Linked DNA regions of Homo sapiens: all the other regions are linked to region 2. The links are contacts of gene promoters, found by promoter capture Hi-C in human tissues and cell types (Jung and others, 2019). All regions are on one chromosome and are shown on one strand. The core of a region is centred on a gene start or on the middle of the fragment in contact, and the rest is flanking DNA. Distances in the headings are between cores, read along the strand shown. Region 1 holds the start of CUL1 (cullin 1). Region 2 has its middle 39 kb from the start of GHET1. Region 3 holds the start of ZNF786 (zinc finger protein 786).

Region 1 (2,700 bases), core at 201-2,700, 250 kb after region 2:
TTCTGCGAGGCGTTAAGCTATGCTTAGGTCCTAGAAGCTCATGGCTTGAAGTAAAAAAGGAATCTAGTTCCTCTTCTGCCGCTTCGTTAAGTGCATTCCAAAAAGTGTGATCGTTTACTCCACTCAGAACTTTTGACGATTTTAATGCTACTACAGGAAAGAGCAATTACACAGAGCAAACAAATATTTAAGTAGACTGCAATTCAGTATTTGCGCACTTACCACTAACCCCTACTACGAACCAGAAGCAACCAAGAGTGACCCAATCGGAAAAGAGAATCCTCTTTTTGGCAAAGCCAGCCAGGGAGAAAACCCTAACTTTGGGGATTCATTTCAAGGAATGTCTACAAGCATTCCTCTCTTTCTTATCTTATGTCTGCGCTACACAATACTGCACGGGTGGCAGAAACGGGGGTCTTTCAGATCTTAAGGGAAAAAAAAGCGACGACCCCCGAGTCTGGGGACCCCAAGTCCCAGCGGCCTGGCGGGCGCACGGCTACCCTCAGGGTCAGGGCGCGCGCTCCCGTTGGGACCGGGGGCGCGCCGAGGCCGCAGCGCAGGGCCCGGCCCGACTAGCGAGCGATAGGCGGGCGCCGGGGGGCTCTGTCCGGTTCGGCCGCCGGGCTAGCATCCCTGCGCGCATGCCCCGGCCCGCTCTCCCAGGAGAACGGGGCAAAAGGGCGACTGTTACCCAATAATAGCGCCCTGCACGTTCGCAACAATGCAGGCGGGGAACCCGAGAGCCGCGGGCAGGGAACCGGAAAGCGAGAGAGCCCGGCTCCGCGGCTGCTCCTGCGCTTGAGCCCAGAGCTCACAGGGGAACACGCGTCGGCCGGAAAGCAGCGCCGGGAAGAAGCGTGGGCGCGAGGGGGCAAGGGCACGGGTCCCGGCGTCCCGCGGAGGTCGCCTCACCAGGCGAGGCGCGGACGCCCGAGCCGCCCCGGGCCACACGTCGGCCCACCCTCCGAGAACCCAGCCCGGTCGCGGCGGGGAAAGGGGCCGGCGCCACCAGGCCGCCGCCTCCAGGCGCGATGAATCGTGCTTTTTCCCAGTGCGTAGTCCAGGCCTGGCCGCCCCGGCCCGTCCGGGGTGACTCAGGGCCCGGCCCCGCTCGCTCCTCTGCCACCTTCGGCGTCCTCCGCCCACGAGTCCCCCGGCCCGGCCGCCATTCTGCCCGGCCGCGTTTCGGCGGCTCAGGCCTCGCCAGGCGCCTGGTTTCGGCCGTCGCGGCCCGAGTCACTGCGACACCGCGGCTCGGGGCCGGGCCTGCGCCGCCGCCGCCGCCGCCACCTCCTCTCGGCCCCGGCGGCTGCCGACACTCACCCGCATCTCTGTGGTGCCCCAAAGGCTCCCGCGACGCCTCCGCCTGGTCCCTGGGCCTGGGCCCCGGCGAAAGCCCCGTCCCGCCAAGGTCTAGCTGCGTCCCTCAGCTACCGGGGCTGCCCCGCCTGGAGCTGCGTGCGACACGGCGCCCGCCTCCTCCTCCTCCCCTGCCCGCCCGGCCCTCCTCCTCCCGCCGCCGCCGCCTGCACCACGCAACCTCCGCCCTCTCGCCTTCCCTGCGCGGCTCCCCGCCCTCTCGGCCTCACCGGCTCCGGCGACCGCGGGGGAGAAGCTGTTGGGGGAGGGCCGGAACGCACCGCCATCGGCGTCCGGGGCGGGGGAGCCGGGAAACCGTCGTCGCCATCGCCCCGCCAGCCCGAGGCGCGGGAGGGGCCCGGAAAGCTCCCTCCCGCCCGCTCGCCGCTGCCGGCGGCCCCGGGGGCGCCCCTTCCGCGGCCGAGGCCCCCGCTCGCGTGGGGAAGCTTCTACCTGCGAGCCTGCGGCCCCTGCCCCCGGCACCCGAGACATCCCCGACCCGGCGCGCCGGATTCTCTGCCAGGTTTTACAGCCTCCCTCGCCTTGGGACCGCCGCGGAGGACCCGTTCCCGCCACTTCGGACCTCGCGAGCGGGGCTGAGCTGCTTGGGTCGGGGACACCACCAGCCTCTGGAGAAACGGCCCGAAGCACCCCGAAGAAGAGGGGGTCCCAGTCCCCTGCCCCTCCCTTGTGCGCACCCCCACCCCCAGCTTGCCTGGAACCTGACTCCACACCTTTGTCGACCGGGACAGGGACTGGGGGTTGCACCCCAGATCAGAAAGTCAGAGGTGGCCCTCCGAATCGGCGCGGACTTCCGAGGAACCTCAGCCAATTCTCGACCCCCTTACCACCTGCAAGGCCTTAGGAATCGGCTCCAGAAAGCTCGAGCTTATCTGCGTGTTTCGTTTTAAAAATCACTTCTAAGATAAAACCTAACTAGGCTTTCCCCTTCAGACTTTCAGTAACTCCTGTTTGGCAAATTTTGACATTCACTCTATCCTTCGTCTTTGTAAGGACATATCAAGACTTAGAAGGCTTTGATTACACATACGGATGGCATGAGTCGTGATATAAAATAGTATTGTTTTCACGTGTACTTCGAAGTCATCTCATTTGAAATTAACTGTCATAATTGACTATTTGGAATATTCAACCTAAATACTACCCGCTGCTGTGGTGACGGGGGGTGGAGGAAGCGTGGTGGAACCCCAACACCTAGTGAGGGGTGGCTGATTAATACCACGGCTCACAACATAACAGAGCGGCTCATTCCATGAACAACCCCGGGGGGATTTCGAATTCTATCATCTGGGCAAAAGATGTGATGAGTGTAACTTCCTG
Region 2 (2,700 bases), core at 7-2,506:
TGGGTTCGTGGTCTCACTGGCTCAGGAGTGAAGCTGCAGACCTTCACGGTGAATGTTACTGCTTTTAAGGCAGCGTGTCTGGAGTTGTTCATTTCTCCCGGTTGGCTTGTGGTCTCGCTGGACTCAGGAGTGAAGTTGCAGATCTTCGCGGTGAGTGTTACAGCTCATAAAAGCAGCGTGGACCCAAAGGGCGAGCAGTAGCAAGATTTATTGCAAAGAGTGAAAGAACAAAGCTTCCACAGCGTGGAAGGGGACCCGAGCAGGTTGCCACTGCTGGCTGGGCAGCCTGCTTTTATTCTCTTATCTGGCCCCACCCACATCCTGCTGATTGGTAGAGCCGAGTGGCCTGTTTTGTCAGGGTGCTGATTGGTGCATTTACAATCCCTGAGCTAGATACAAAGGTTTTCCACGTCCCCATCAGATTAGTTAGATACAGAGTTTCCACACACAGGTTCTCCAAGGCCCCACCAGAGCAGCTAGATACAGAGTGTCGATTGGTGCATTTACAAACCTTGAGCTAAACACAGGGTGCTGATTGGTGTGTTTCCAAACCTTGAGCTAGATACAGAGTGCCGATTGGTGTATTTACAATCCCTGAGCTAGACATAAAGGTTCTCCATGTCCTCACCAGAGCAGCTAGATACAGAGTGTCGATTGGTGCACTCACAAACCTTGAGCTAAACACAGGGTGCTGATTGGTGTATTTACAATCCCTGAGCTAGATATAAAGACTCTCCACGTCCCCACCAGACTCAGGAGCCCAGCTGGCTTCACCTAGTGGATCCCGCACCGGGGCTGCAGGTGGAGCTGCCCGCCAGTCCTGCGCCGTGCGCTCGCATTCCTCAGCCCTTGGGTGGTCGATGGGACTGGGTGCCGTGGAGCAGGGGGTGGTGCTCGTTGGGGAGGCTGGGGCCGCACAGGAGCCCATGGAGTGGGTGGGAGGCTCAGGCATGGCGGGCTGCAGGTCCCGAGCCCTGCCCTGCGGGAAGGCAGCTAAGGCCCAGCGAGAAATCGAGCACAGCGCCGGTGGGCCGGCACTGCTGGGGGACTCAGTACACCCTCCGCAGTCACTGGCCCGGGTGCTAAGTCCCCCATTGCCTGGGGCCAGCAGGGCTGGCTGGCTGCTCCGAGTGCGGGGCCCACCAAGCCCACGCCCACCCGGAACTCCAGCTGGCCCGCAAGCGCCGCACGCAGCCCCGGTTCCCGCTCGTGCCTCTCCCTCCACACCTCCCTGCAAGCTGAGGGAGTGGGCTCTGGCCTTGGCCAGCCCAGAAAGGGGCTCCCACAGTGCAGTGGGGGGCTGAAGGGCTCATCAAATGCCACCAAAGTGGGAGCCCAGGCAAGGGAGGTGCCGAGAGCGAGCGAGGGCTCTGAGGACTGCCAGCATGCTGTCACCTCTCAGCATGATCTCGGCTCACTGCAACCTCCGCCTCCTGATTTCAAGCGATGCTCCTGCCTCAGCCTCCCGAGTAGCTGGGATTACAGATGTGCACCACCACACCCGGCTAATTTTTTGTATTTTTAGTAGAGACGGGGTTTCACCATGTTGGTCAGGCTGGTCTTGAACTCCTGACCTCAAGTGGTCCACCCACCTTGGCCTCCCAAAGTGCTGGCATTACAGGCGTGAGCTACCACACCCAGCTTAATTTTTATGTTTTGTTGTTGTTGTTGTTGTTGTTTGAGATGGAGTCTAGCTAGCTCTGTCACCCAGGCTGGAGTGCAGTGGTGCAATCTCGGTTCACTGTAACCTCCGTCTCCTGGGTGCAAGCAATTCTCCTGCCTTAGCCTCCCTAGTAGCTGGGACTACAGTTGCCTGCCACCATACCCAGCTAATTTTTGTATTTTTAGTAAAGACAGGGTTTCATCATGTTGGCCAGGCTGGTCTTGAACTCCTGACCTCAAGTGATCCTCTCACCTCCGCCTCCCAAAGTGCTAGGATTACAGGGGTGAGCCACCACCCCAGCCTGGGTTCTTGTTTTTAAAACAAGCAACTCCTATGTAGAAGGCATTGAGGCTAATGAAACGAATACAATTGCATACCCACTACTAAAGAAGTTATTATCTATTTGGGGATATAAGACACATTTGCAAATTATTAGGAAACAGCAAAGGATATGCTAAATGGCAACACACAAAAAAGGAATAAACAAGACTCTTTCGTGGTTTCCAGAACAGAGAGCAGACCCAAGGGAGGGGGTCCAGTCCCATGAAACTGTGGAACAGCAAGGATCTGTCTATTGGTTAGAGCCAGAAGGGATAGACTCAGCTGGACACCCTTACAAGCAGCAGAAGAAAGTCAAACGAGGTTTAGCAGTCAAGGAACCCTCTAAAGTAACTCAGTAGTTCTCTTGAGGTCTCTGGCAGGGTAACAAAGGCAGTGGCTTCCATAAGGGCCAGCCTTCAAATCTGGCATGGGCTCTGATCGAATTGCCCTTGGGCATAGCAGCAGCAGGGGTTAGCTGAAGGAGTGGAAAGTTCTAGTCGAAGTCTGATATATTACTAACTAAAAAAAAAAAAAAAAAAAAAAAAAAAAAAGTCAGGCTTTACATGAACAGCAAATTCTTAATTTGCTCCTTCGAGCTTGTGCCTTTCCTAGATCTGGCCAAAGATGGTTGCTCTGATTAATTTTACCTTCTCTTACAGGAGAATGTATGAACAAACAATATCAATTTCATGTTTCACACACTTTCCTAACCCATC
Region 3 (2,700 bases), core at 129-2,628, 140 kb before region 2:
GAGGCCAGCCTGACCAACATGGTGAAACCTCGTCTCTACTAAAAATACAAAAATTAGCCGGGCGTGGTGGCAAATGCCTGTAATCCCAGCTACTCGGGAGGCTGAGGCAGGAGAATTGCTTGAATCCAGGAGACAGAGGTTGCAGTGAGCCGAGATTGCGCCACAGCACTCCAGCCTGGGTGACAAGAGTGAGACTTTGTCTCCAAAAAAAAAAAATTGTACTGTATAACAGTTGTAAAAATAAAAAACGTTAAACAGTAAGGTGCATGTACATTTCACGATTCTGTGGCAAACACAGATGCGTATATGCTCCTCAGCCTACGCAGGGACTATTTTATTTCTTATGCACATCCTCTCCAAACTACACACTTTTCCTTTGCTACTTCAGCCTGACACCTAAGACATGACTAAGACAGAATGCGAGGTTGATTTTCTGGAGACAATCGCCACCCCCTTCCTCGCCCTCTCTCCTTTCTGTCTCTTCCTGGTTTCCCCACCTCTCCCCTGTTCTTGCGTTCTCGTGTTTCTCACGCCCTGTGTCATGGCCTCCTCCGTCTTCTCCTCCTACTCTGTCTCTGTCTCCTGCCGGGGCCCGGGGTGCCCGACCGCAGCCTTGGGCCACCCTGAGTCCCTGCAGGCGGCCCTGAGGCCGGGGTGGCTTCCGCATGGGGTCTCTGCCCAAGGCCGTTCTCTGCTAAGGAAGGAGCGTGGCCGCCCGGGGAGCCCGGAGGGCTCTAGACCCACGGCGACCGGACCTGGTGGGCGGACCCCGCCTCCGCGTCCCCGGCGGGACAAGCATGGGGCCCCCACGGCCTCCGCGCCCCCGGCGGGACGGATGCCCCGGGCCACCGCGGGCAGCGCGCGCCCCCCACCCACTTTCCGGCCTCGCTGGATTCCCGGGACCCCCTCACAGACGAAGCCTGTCTCGGGGGCGGCTTTGGGAGGAACCGCACCGGAGGTTCCCCTCTCGCTGCCTCTCAGTCTGGGTTTCTGTGGAGCGCGTCTCCCTGTCCCTGTCCCTGATCTCTCCCTGTCCCTGTCCCTGATCTCTCCATGTCCTGCCCCTCCGTTTCCCCTCCGGCCAGCTCCTCAGCTTGTCTCTGACCGCTTCCCTCCCCAGATCCCGGGAATCCGAGGGTCCCTCAAAGACCGGCGTGCTGCGGCCTGCTCTGAGGGCGCCCGGGCCCCTGGGTCCCTCCTCTGAGGACCGACGCTCAGGCAGCGCCGCTTCTTCCTCCCGCAGGAGGCGCTGTAGGACTGAGCGGCAGCCGCGGCCGGGCGCCGGGTCCCAGCATGCACCGCGCCCGGCCGGCGCTGCGTTTGGGGGCCACCCGGGCTGTGCGTGGGAGTCGGGTTGGGGCGGAGCGGAGGGGAGTCAGTGCGCAGCAGGGCAGGTTCCTGCGGAGCCGCCGGAGACGGTCGGGTTTGCCAGGGCCGGGCGGGACCGCGGGGACCATGGCGGAGCCGCCTCGGGTAAGCGGGCTAGCCTGTTTGGACGCCCGGTTTCGGGGTCGTGGTGGGTCCTCGGGTTCCGGGCTCGCCCGTGTCCTGGGGTCCCCGTGAGTGCGCGCGGTGCACGGGTAGGACGGAGTCTGCAGGCTGCTTCTGCTGGGGATGTGGATTCCGGGCCCTGCGGTGAGCAGGTGGCCTCCGCTCCCGCGGCTTGTCCGTGGCCAAACCCCTGGACAAAGCCGAGCGTGGACCGAGGCCGACCTAGGAGCGGGGCGGAGCCTGGGCGAGGATGCCGGGCGGACGGGGAGCGGACGGTGGAAAGGATAGAAAGGTTTGGGGCCAGAGGTGGATGTTACAGGTCAACCAGTTTTACATCATAGTCACCGAAATCAGAACAACTGTTCCAAAAAGTTTAAGATTCCGAATGGTTGAAATGGTGTTTGGCGGGGGCTTCAATGTCAGAATTTATTGTCTAGCGTGATTTGGGTTGAGTGTAAGATGATACGTTGGGAAGAGTAGAAGAGGATACAAAAAATTAAGTTAGTGGTTTCTTAAAATCGAGGTTTAGAGGGTATTTTTATCTTGTAAACTTTAATGTTGAGGATTTTTGCTGATTATTAAATGAATTAGGCCGGGCGCGGTGGCTCACGCCTGTAATCCCAGCACTTTGGGAGGCCGAGGCGGGTGGATCACGTGAGGTCGGGAGTTCGAGACCAGCCTGGCCAACATGGTGAAACCCCAACTCTACTAAAAATACAAAAAATTAGCCTGGCATGATGGCGGGCGCCTGTAATCCCAGCTACTCGGGAGGCTCAGGCAGGAGAATTGTTTGAACCCGGGAGACGGAGGTTGCAGTGAGCCGAGACTGCACCATTGCACTCCAGCCTGGGCAACAAGAGCGAAACTCCGTCTCCAAAAATATATACATACCTATATATATGGGGAAAGGATATAAACAGCCAAATCACAGACCTGAAAATAAATTATTAATGAGTAAAAGAATGGATTTTAAAACTTGTGACATTCAGGCCAGGCGCCGTGGTTTACGCCTGTAATCCCAGCACTTTGAGAGGCCGAGGTGGGCAGATCACTTGACGTCAGGAGTTCAAGACCAGCCTGGCCAACATGGCGAAAAACTGTCTCTACTAAAAAATACGAAAATTAGCTGAGTGTGGTGGCGGACGCCTGTAATCCCAGCTCCTCGGGAGGCTGAGGTAGGGAGAATTGCTTGAACTCGGGAGGTGGAGG

The links. Contacts are between HindIII fragments. The study calls those that stand out against the background at their distance.
Region 1: the fragment with the promoter of CUL1 here is called in contact with a fragment that was not itself captured in region 2 in 1 of the 25 tissues and cell types used here (lymphoblastoid cells).
Region 3: the fragment with the promoter of ZNF786 here is called in contact with a fragment that was not itself captured in region 2 in 1 of the 25 tissues and cell types used here (adrenal gland).

Annotation. Positions count from the first base shown.
Region 1 is chr7:148,697,653-148,700,352 of GRCh38, reverse strand. CUL1 (cullin 1) reads right to left here and starts at 1,450. Exons shown (of 22, transcript NM_003592.3): 1 at 1,324-1,450. RefSeq lists silencers at 446-545, 846-1,875, 2,536-2,595 and enhancers at 423-1,148, 2,216-2,265. The HindIII fragment of the contact is 3,848 bases long and covers 727-2,700 here.
Region 2 is chr7:148,947,601-148,950,300 of GRCh38, reverse strand. No RefSeq gene overlaps it. Among named protein-coding and RNA genes, the nearest start is that of GHET1, 39 kb to the left of the region's middle. The HindIII fragment of the contact is 6,313 bases long and covers 1-2,700 here.
Region 3 is chr7:149,089,396-149,092,095 of GRCh38, reverse strand. It overlaps ZNF786 (zinc finger protein 786), which reads left to right and starts at 1,378. Exons shown (of 4, transcript NM_152411.4): 1 at 1,378-1,473. The coding sequence starts at 1,456. RefSeq lists silencers at 527-1,016, 1,137-1,436. The HindIII fragment of the contact is 46,746 bases long and covers 1-2,700 here.